Regions from separate parts of the Homo sapiens genome. Here region 2 is linked to region 1. Evidence: promoter capture Hi-C in 16 types of primary human blood cells and fetal thymus (Javierre and others, 2016). All regions are on one chromosome and are shown on one strand. Each heading gives the region's core, a stretch centred on a gene start or on the middle of the fragment in contact. The rest is flanking DNA. Distances are from core to core; before and after follow the strand shown. Region 1 holds the start of SVIP (small VCP interacting protein). Region 2 overlaps LGR4 (leucine rich repeat containing G protein-coupled receptor 4).

What was found. Contacts are between HindIII fragments. The CHiCAGO score rates a contact against its expected background, and 5 or more counts as called.
Region 2: a fragment that was not itself captured here is called in contact with the fragment with the promoter of SVIP in region 1 in 1 of 17 cell types (total B cells); the score reaches 5.3 in total B cells.

The regions. Positions count from the first base shown.
Region 1 is chr11:22,826,347-22,831,875 of GRCh38, forward strand. SVIP (small VCP interacting protein) reads right to left here and starts at 3,455. Exons shown (of 4, transcript NM_148893.3): 1 at 3,349-3,455; 2 at 1,478-1,528; 3 at 861-974. The coding sequence starts at 3,402. LINC02718 (long intergenic non-protein coding RNA 2718) reads left to right here and starts at 3,068. Exons shown (of 11, transcript NR_187210.1): 1 at 3,068-3,265. RefSeq lists an enhancer at 3,050-3,359 and a silencer at 3,510-3,579. The HindIII fragment of the contact is 1,537 bases long and covers 2,236-3,772 here.
Region 2 is chr11:27,364,271-27,369,799 of GRCh38, forward strand. LGR4 (leucine rich repeat containing G protein-coupled receptor 4) reads right to left here. Exons shown (of 18, transcript NM_018490.5): 18 at 1,691-4,873. The coding sequence ends at 3,597. Among named protein-coding and RNA genes, the nearest start is that of CCDC34, 3.8 kb to the left of the region's middle. The HindIII fragment of the contact is 2,091 bases long and covers 2,429-4,519 here.

The DNA.
Region 1 (5,529 bases), core at 2,205-4,704:
TATGTGCATGTGTGTGTGTGTGTAGTTTTGAGAGAAAAAAAACCAATAAATCTGTTGAAAGGTACTCATAAATCATTGACAAGTTAAATATAAATGACTGAAATTAAAGACATTGTCCTTTTCACAAATATACTACTATTTACTTTAAAAATGGACCAAGAATAAATTCTTAATATCTGAGCCATTATTTTCCTGAGCTTTAAGGGATTTTAAAAATAAATCCTTTAAAGTCCTGCTAGAGTGTAAAGACTCCAGCATTCAGAGACTCTGCTTAACTTGTCCACCATTATATTCCCAGTGTCTAGCTCTGGGATCCATATCTAGGGAGGTATGTGTATGATACCCACACCTGTATACATTCTGTAATCCAAATTAACATTTACATAACTATAATAAACAGGGGCAATGGAAAGATCAAAGATTCCAAATCAATGCGTAAAAGAGCTCAGGCCATAAAACAGAACTTATAGCGTAATCCAATTTAATAAGATATATAAATGAAGGTTAGAAATTATGTCTGTCAAAATGGTACTTAGTTTGGATGACTTTTACACTTCTTTATACTTCTCCATATTGCTTGAATTTTTGAATTATTTAAGATTAGTAGTAAGCATAAGAGTATTAAAATATATATAGTGTTAAAATAATAAATCTATTATTTCATTTTGGGGAAAAAAGCTAATTGATTCCAATAAATGTTAAAATAAATTGGTATTACTTCCAATATTTACTACTCATGCTTTTAAACTATTTCAAAATTTTCTGATAATACATTTCAGGAGAAAATTATGAATGGATTGCTACTTAAGTTTTTTTAAAATGCCAGTTAAGTTAATCACTAAGAAAATTTTAATACTTACCCTAAGTCCACCTTCTGGTGGGGGCCCGGATGTAGCAATTTGTTTTTCTATTTTTTCCTTTTTCTTTCTCTTTTCTTGCACAGATTGAACATCTAAAATTCCCCGAGATGCAGCCTTGAAGAAATTTGATAAGAAAAACAGAAAGACAACAAAAATCTGTCCAGTGTGCAAAACATTTTTTTGTCTATCTTTGCTTTCTAGGTTTTTCTTTGGGGGTAGGGAGTTGGTTTATTTTTGGTAACATAGAAGGAGTGTTTCTACAACAGCCTTACATAAAACATCATTTCTTCACTGGGTATTTTGTAACTATACAAATTTTCCCCTAAACTTGCTTCACATCTGTAAGTATTTTACAATGCACAGCCATTTTAAAAGGAAGGATGTTACTAAAAGAGTATCTGAATTTAGAGAAGATATGATAGTTTTCATATATTAATATAAATATATTAATGCAATTCATATAAATAAGGAAATCATTTTGAAAATAATTACATTTAAATGTAAATTTTTGGGATATCAAAGGCCATTTGCGTTAGAAAATCTAGCTATGGACATCTATGAAGAATAAAGTCCAAACTCAATTATCTAAGTAGGCAAAACTTGATCTTTAATCTTACCTCTTTTTGTCTTCTCTCTGCAGCCTCTGCAAGCTTTGCTCTTTTCTCTTCCTAAATAAATGTGTAAAAATATGTATTAAAATAACAAACATTATTATTAATAAATTATTCACATTTATTTCATAGGCACTATAACAATTTACAAAAATATTCGGTACTGGCCCTAAATGTCCCACAAAGAATGCCACTACTCAACTTTTTGAATTTCATTCTCCTAATCAATATGCCTTCAAATCAGCACATGCTAAAACAGATACAAGGTTTACCTATATAATCATTTATTTACTCTCTTTTTTAATAAAAAGGCCTACAAGCTAGTCAGGGCAATAACAAAACAAATAATGTTTACAAATACAAAAAGGAAAATACATGGTTTGTTACTGCCGGTTAAAATGGAGTCTGAAGTAACCTGGTGTTTTTAGGAAAGGTTAATAAATGAAGTGGGCTAATCTCAGTGTGTAGGAGGGAAGGACTGGAGTAATTTCATGAGAGGTATTGTTCCATATCAGAAAACAGTGAATGCTATTTTTCTAGACCATGTACTACTTATTATAAAGCCCTTTTTCTAGGTGCTGGGATACAACAGTGTAAAAACATAGATAAATGTCTCCTCCCAAATGAAACAAATTCCAATTGCGGGCGCACAGACAAATATAATGAAGTAAGTAAACGTCTGTCAGATGGCATGGCAGATAAGTAATGGGAGAATGGGTGGGTGGTATTGTGGGGAATATATTTTGTTTAACGTGGTCAGCAAAAGCTTCACTGGTAAAGTGACATCCAAGCAGTGAGCCGTGTGGTTATCAAGGGAAGAGGGTATAGTATGAGGATGGGGGGGAGGGCTTAACAAATCTGACATGTTATATTTTATCGACAGCCAGAACAACAAAATCAACTTAATTTAAAACAACAGCAGCAACAAAGAGAAGCTGAACTTTCCCACATCAAATTTATAAGTACTAAATTTTTAGTATCTATAGTAGCTGAAGAGTTAATGTACTTCCCAAAAATACTTCATTTTCTTCAACTAATTTTTAGCTAGAGAAGAGAAACAGGTTTATGTTAACTCCCTGTAAGGAGTACTAATGTAAAGATACTGTTAACAGAAAGCTACAAAAAGTGTACATGTATTGTACCACACACCCACTAGCTACATTTGAATTTCAGATAAGCAATGAGTAATGTTTTTGTAGAACTAGATCCCTAATATTGCATGGCACAAAACGATATTATAAACGTATTCCTTGTATATCTGAAATTCGAATGTAACTGGGTGTCCAGTATTTTTATTAAATACGACATTATAAATTGGACACTCTGTACTACATATTCTTTTAAAGGGAGAACGTAAAAGAATGAGATAAATACTAAAAAGAAATCATTAAAAAAACATATCCGATAAAGCTCAGGCGTATAAGCGACTTTCCGAGCACCTTCTTTTAAAAGATGGTAGACACAGTTGAAAACGCACATCTCCTAGACGACTAAAGAGCTCCCGGAGAAAGCAATGTCTTTTCGCGCCGAATTCCATCTACCACATCCCCCGGAATGTCCCACGCGTAACGCCCTCTGCGTGCGCCGGCGCCCTATGAAGATCCGGCGCAGCTAAAGTCAGTGGAAGGTAGAAAGACGCCACAGCCGCCTTTCGACAACTTTTTGTTACAAAAGTGGAGATCTACACGGAGGCGACGGCCTAGGTCGCTCTGACAGGACCCAACGACCCTCCTGACGCGTCCACCCGTCCTCGCTAGCAGGGTCCCCCAGCGGGCTCTCGACCTGCGCCACCAGGTACAATGGCTCGGCCCGCCCCGCAACCCGAGGACAGGTGCTCAAGGCGCGGCCCGGCGGACGCAGGGACCTGCTCTACTCACCAGGTCCGGCGTGGGAGGCGCGGACTCCCCGGGACAAGGAAAACACAGCCCCATAGGGACGACAGCTTGAGAACCCTGACCGGGTCCGGCCCAGGCCAGGCGGCGCTAACTGCGCGGTCCGGAGCCGGTCCCTGGTCCTCCGCGCTTGCCCCGCCCCCACCGCCCTCCACTGGCTCGGCTCCGCCCCAGCGGCAACGCCCCGCCCCCACCCCGCAGCTCTGCCCCGCCTCGCCTCTCTGCGGCAACGCCCCCCTCTTCTCGCGACACCAACCAGTCCCACAGCTCAGCTGCGCCCCCTTAAGGCATTGCCCCTTCCTCACCCACAGCTCCGCCTACCCCCGCCCCGCGACCGCTGGGCTTGTGGCCAAAGCCTAGGTTCCAGGAAACACCTGCTGTGGGTAGCAATGCAGGGAAGGGATGGAAAAGCTTCGCTACGGTTCCAAAGCTCTTCCTGCTAACCTTGCCTTACCATTTATAAATGAATGAGTGGTACAGCTCTGGGTAGTTCATGCTACCTTTTTTTATGAGATGGGACTCTGGTGTCCTAGAAATTAAAGCCAAAATTCCAAGTAAACATCAGCACCCTTTTCTCCCTTCTTAGTGACAGTGCTATTCCAGAACAGAGGGCAGAATATAAAATCCATTATTATGACGATGAATCTAGCGTCATAAATGTGGCATTAGTTGACATTTCCACTAGTTTCTGGTATTTAGAAGTCATTTATCCTTCCGAGAGAAATAATAAAGTTTCATCTACTGAGAAATGTTTTAATGATTCTCCTCAAATTTTAATAAGTATGAGAATCAGCTGGGCAACTAGTTAAAATTTACTTGCTGATTTAGTAAGTATAAGGTGGGACCTGAGATTCATTTCCAGTAAACCCACAGGTGATACTAAAGTTACTGATCTCGTCTCCACACAAATGCTTTTATTTTATTTTATTTTATTTTTGCATTCTATTAGTTATTTCTGCTTATGTAAAAATTTTCAAACATTACAAAAAGGTAGGATGTATAGTGACAGCGTCTCAGAAACCATTGTCGGCTTTTTGATATACTTGCTGGTTAATTTTTTATAGATGTATAATTTACATATAATATTATGCACTTATTTTGATTGTAGAGTTCACTGAGTTTTAACAAACATGTGATCACCACATTCAAGATATGTAAGTTTTCCATCACCCAAAAACCTTCTATTGTACCCAATCCCATTCAATACTTTATCCTATACCTAGATCCAGGAAACTATTAATTTGTTTAATATCACTTTAGTCTTTAAGTTTTGCATAAATGTTAATATCACTATAGTCTTTAAGTTTTACATAAATGAAATATACAATATGTTTTGCAAAAGCCATAATATTTTCTAAATTCTTCCATGTTATTGAATGAAACAGTAGTTTATTCCTTAAATAATAGGGGATGATGCTTTTTTAATACTATTATTCGATTGCATGGGCCGTTTCTAAGGGTAAATAAAAATATATAAAGAAAAAGTGAAGGTTCTCTGTTGCAAAAAGAGAAAGATAACTACCCACCTCCTCTTTAGCATTGTGTTTAGAAAACGTGAAATTGTAAGCGCTATCTCTGTCTCACTGAAATGTATGAAAAAAAAAAAAAGGCCAGGCATGGTGGCTTACTCCTGTACTTTTGGAGGCCAAGGTGGGTGGATCACCTGAGGTCAGGAGTTTAAGACCAGCCTGACCAACGTGGGGAAACCCTTTCTCTATTAAAAATACAAAACTTCGCCAGGCATGGTGGTGGGCGCCTGTAATCCCAGCTACTCCGGAGGCTGAGCAGGGAGAATCGTTTGAACCCGGGAGGCGGAGGTTGCAGTGAGCCGAGCTCGCGCCACTGCACTCCAGCCTGCACAACAGAGAGAGATTGCGTCGAAAGAAAAGAAAGAGAGGAGGGGAGGGGAGGGGAGGGGAGGGCAGGGGAGGCTAAATAAGCCTCTTGCCAGTTTTGCATCAGAAAGAAAGAACCTAAATAAGCCTCTTGCCAGTTTTGTATCCTCAGAATATCTTTGGAGGCCTATTGGCTTTCTCTTAGAAATGAAAACATCCCAGAGTGGCACCTGTCTCCCCGTCTTCATGGTAGTTTACTGTCTAGGCACTTGGCTTCAAGATGGAGCTTTCTGCTTGTCAAGAGATACAAGTGTTATTCTTTCCTTTAGAT
Region 2 (5,529 bases), core at 2,224-4,723, 4.5 Mb after region 1:
TTTAAATTGAATATTTTCTTTAAAATTTCGGTGAAAACAAAATGAAAGAAAATTGGAGCACTCCAAATGAGTAATAAAGTTGATCAAGGAATAAAACTGACCTAATGGAGTTTTCGTTCTCGACCCTAGTTATTCAATATTGGCATTTAAAAACCTTTTATCAGAACATCTCTAGAATCAGTAACATCGAAACGCACTGAGCTGCCTTAGGGCCTCATAAAGAGGTAAGCTTGAGAAGCTGTTTTCCAATAGATATAACCAAACATAACTGTAGTGGGAAAAACACTAGTATGAAAGGGACCTGGAATCAGTGGTTTTCTTGGTACTTGATAGGTTTTCCATTCCTAACACTCCTCTGAAAATAGGGGAAAAATTTACCTCACAGGGTCATATTATCTCATTAATTCTCAAAGTTTCTAAGCTCAGAATCAGAAAGATACAATGAAAAGTTGTGTGTAAACTTCAGAACTTTTTCACTTTAACCTCTACGCATGGGAATCTAAATGTCATATACTTCTTTGTCCCCTTAAAATGTTTTCCTAAACAAAGTATACCCTTTTCTTGATGCGCCAGGGTCATCATTATGACCAACTGTGACATTATGCACTAGCAATGCTGGACCCCCCCAAGGGTATGAGGCAGAGTCAGATGGTGCTGGTGCTGGTGTTTGAACATAATTAAGTCCAGCGGCCTCATTTCTTACAGTGCCTTTTCATTACTGGAGCTGAGAAGCCATAATCGAGATGGGTAGAATTATATATAAATGTACAAATGTATAAAAGAGTGTCTCTCCCTTTAAGTTTTAGGGTATTGACTTAGTGACATCTTTTCATACAATTAGTACTTTGGCCATGGTATATTTGAGGTAATTATGTTTTGCTGGCTCTGGAAACTTATATAAGAGTCACTTTTGCTTAAATAATTCCATCACCAGTTAGCCCTGTGGCATATATTATGCAACTTTAAAAATTTATCCCTAGACATTAGTATTTACAGATGAAACAATATAATGTCTTAAATTTGCTTCAAAATAATGCAAGGGGCAGAGGGATTGGAGGGGATTAGTGAATAGGATGAAGATGAAACAAGGTTCACTACATGCTGCAGATAATTGTCAAAGCAGTGACAGGTATGGGGTGAAGGGTAGGGAGGTGGGGTAATTATACTACTCTACTTTTTGTTATGGAAATTTCAAGCATATATGAAATTTAAAACAAACACACACACAAAATTATGTCCCAAATGAAGAGGCATTGGGTTCTGGTTTGGGGTCAAATTTGCTGTGACTCAGGGATTCACTTAAATTTCATTAAGCCTTTTGTTTTCTCATCTGTAAAATGAGGACTTAATGATTGTAAATACTGAAGTATTTCTAAGCATCTGGGCAACTGACTACATTTAATATCATGCAGATTTTTTAATCATTTGCTTTTTAGATAAAGATTGAATCAATGGTTTTTCTGAAATTTCATAATCTGTTTTCCATGAGTATAGTTCAGACTTAGGATAAAACCTTATTTCTAAGTTTCAGCAAAATGTTCTTATATGTTTACAAATAAATATCAAAATAGTGTTTTCTAATGGTTACTTCCAACATTTCTTCTAATACTGTCCACTTACAAATATTTAATTTGCTTACTTTAAAACTAAATTCATTAATATACCTAGTTTTAAATTAAGGCAAAATAGATTGCTTTCTAGAAACTTTAATAATTCAAAACACTGAGTACAATATTGTATTTCATACCATATAGCACAAAGATTAACACTTTTATATATCTGTTATTCTAGTTTTTAAATGAATAAAATGAAAAGTTTTCAATAACCTGAATTTTGGAAAAAACCTTTTAATTAGGAGTTTCTTACCAAGTTATGATTTAATATTTATCAGATGTGTAAATATACATGATAGCAATTTTTAAAACTTGTAAATAGTTGGCCTTACAAAATTACAACACACTGTAAATAAATCCTTCCCACATTTTATACAAACTACATGATTTTGATATACAAAGATTCTGTTTTTATTACACTGACAATGTACAACAAAGACTATTTACAATGCAAAAAGTATATAAACCACAATTTAACAGTCTGCTACTGGCAGCCACTATAGTTTAGGAGGTAGCTTTAATTAAACGAAATGAACAGAAGCCACATTTCCCAACTTGTGTTCTAAAAATAATTTACATAAGATAAAAATTCATTATATGCACAGTATGTACAGTTTAATTATTAAACTGCAATCTAGCTGGATTTTTTTAGTATATTCAGAATAACTAATATGGCAGTGGGTTTGCTATTGATTTAGCACACTGTTCAAAAAACATATTGAACAATTATAACTTTAAGACTCCACCCAGTAATAGGTCTAAAGCCCATAGATGGGAATCAAGTAAAATTTTTAATTTTTAAAGACACAGGACTAAGCTTTATTCTTTCTTCTTCTATTTTTATTAATAACATATTATCTTGTTTAACCAGAGTTCAACCTCTGAGCTATTGAATAGGCTCTTTTATAAAAAATAGTATGGGGAAGATGTATGGAAATTTCCATTTAATAGCACAGGTTCAAGATAATCCAGCTCACTAAGAAATAAACATAAGTACTTCGTGTCATAATTACTCCCCGTTTCGTCTAATTAAATGCAAGTATTGACCACAGTTTACTTTCTATATAATCCAAGCTATTGCTAGGTGACATCCCAGCAAATTGGAAAATATTAGTAGAGCCAACGATATTAGGAAGTATTCATTAATGAGAACATTACATGAAGCCACCAAATCCCTCAGATACTATTAAACCCCCACATTAGTTAGTAGTTTAGCCAAATCGACTAAACCCACACAGCAATTAGCCTTTTACTTTTTTTCTAGTAGTGTAATCACAAAACACTTAAGAAAAAATTACTGATTGGACCAAAGCAATGTATAATGACTGAAAACAAATGTCCAGCTATTTTTTTAACCTAACAGCTGTTAATATTGTTTTAAAAACATCTTCAGGTTTTAGATTTATAAATTGCTTAAACAAAATTTATAGTTCTCTTATGTCAAGGATGGCAAGTGAAAACATAATAAAGTAATGCCTATGTATACTCTCACAGTTCTAGCTGGGACAGTCCCTTTTTTGGCCCTGCAGTAAGTTGTCCTGAGATTAAGGATGAAACATTAGGTAAAATTAGCAAGATATTTTCTTCAGTTATAGAAAATCACATTTTAAAATAGATTTTTAAAAAATATTAACAGCTGTTCTTTATCTTGTGCTTAATACACAAATAGGTATAAATTTGCTTCTTATGGATCAGAAAAAACTAACATTATATTGCTCTACTACACCTAAGATCCTTTTCAAGTCATATATTTGTTTCAAACAGATCATACATTGCTTGGACATTGCATTTTTCACCAATTTATAATTTAGGCACCTGTTCTTTGAAAATGACTGGTTTGAGAAATAAACTGCCACCTCTCCTTCTTCTAAGTGACACCAGGCAGTGATTACAGAAGTGCTTCCCAGATGAAAGATGAGAATAGGGTTCACTCTATAAACACTGATTTTGGTTGACGGGGGAAACGGTTACACACACAGTAGTTCAGTCTTTAACTCTTGGTAGATTGTAAGCATAGCGCACCAAAGGGAATCCTCTACTCTGGTAGAAGCAGGCTCGTCCACAGGCCTGCACCTGGTCAGAACTGTCTGAGACAAAGGAATCTTCTTCATCTGCATAATCAGAGTGGGCCGACTGTGTGCCACAGTCGGACCAGTAGCCCTCAGGTCTTTGGCAAGAAGCCACTGCCAATGCAGGACAGCTGTGTGATTTTATCAAGTGTTTGCATGATACTGGCTTTGTTAAAAGAAACGATTCGCAGCAGTCGCAAACAGTCAGGTTGCCCTGCAAATGTGAGTACATGCCACAGTCGTAGTAGAAATCCTGTTCCAGACAACCACCTTGGCTACTGATGGAAACTGAAACTGATCCACTTTTCTTGGTAACACGTCGCTTCAGTAACTTCCAGTCTTCTTTAAACTTTGGGTTGAAGAAAACATACAGGACTGGATTCAGGCAAGCAGGCAATGGAAAAAATATCAGAGTAACAGACTTCATTATTTCGGGGCTGATAGAGATTGCAGTGATCAATGGTGCAAATGAAAAAAACGCCACAGGGCAGAAAAAGATGCAATTGGTGAAGATTAGCCAAGCGACATGCTTAATCATGCTAGATTGTGAGTTTTCTGAGAGGTCCTCTTTTTCCAAGTTGCAGTATAGTTTAGTGTAGATAACGGCCATTAATAAAAATGCTAGTGAGTTTAATAGCACTAACGTTACAGTGAATCCTAATGATGGCGTTTCACCTGTAGGAAATGGCAAACAAAGGGGTGATGCAGAATATTCCCCTCTATGGAAAAGGGGAAAACAGCCTGCTACTGTAGCACCTAGGAAAGCCAAAAGGGCAGCAACCCGGAACTGTTTGAGATGATTGCTCTTCCCATTTTTCATTATATCTTTTGCAGATAAGCTTCTTTCGACAGTTGCTAGCATTAATAAAAATATGGCACTTTCTGAGGAGAAAACTGCAAGAAACCCAGCTACTTTGCAGCCACTGCCAGTTTCCCACCAAATGCCAAATTCAGCGAATCTGCCCCAGGACACAGCATCAAGAAAAGTTAGGATGCCAGTATAGATTCCCATGAATAAGTTAGACACAGAAATCAAGCCTATAAACAATTTGGACGAAGGCAGTGATGTACAAGATGCAAATGTTGTTAAAATAACAAGCAGGTTGAAAAATAATGCAACCAAGAAAATGAACCACACAGTAAGACGAATCATCCAGCTTCCCAGTAAATATTCACAGGGCTTAAAAGCACCTAAAAAAAACACACACAGAGAGAGAGAAATAAAAGATAACTTAGAAAACAATTTAGAAAATGATATGGCTTGATAGAAAAACTAATGATATAGACTAATTAAATCTGCTCTCTACTTGAACAAAACTGAACTGATTACTAGTTCTAAGATATTTTGGTCATGGACCAGGCTATTTTAAAAATAAACTGACTTTAATTTATTTTATTAAATATTTGGTAAGGCTATAAATATTTCTTTTATTAAATATTTGATAAAGAGTGATATTTAGATGAAATTTTTCATTTTTTCTTGCATCTAAGCTAATTTACATAGCACAATATCTAGGGCATAAGAGGTATTTGATGACTGAGGGTCTGGAATGAGATGGTTCATAACTTGCTATTCTTACCTTAAGAAAGCAACTTAAAATTGTATAAATTTTAACCTGTATTCATTTTCTCACTTGTGGATAATAATGCCTGTTTCATACAGTTGTGCAGCTTAAGTAAAATTATACACATAAGGAACTAAGCAGGATGCTGGATATATAGTTAGACTTCAATAAATATTAGCTCCCTTTTCTTCTTCCTTTCTAGCCCCAATATACTTTATAATCATGTATGTATATGTATGTATCTACACATATTTTTTATATATTTTCTTATGACTTTCAAAA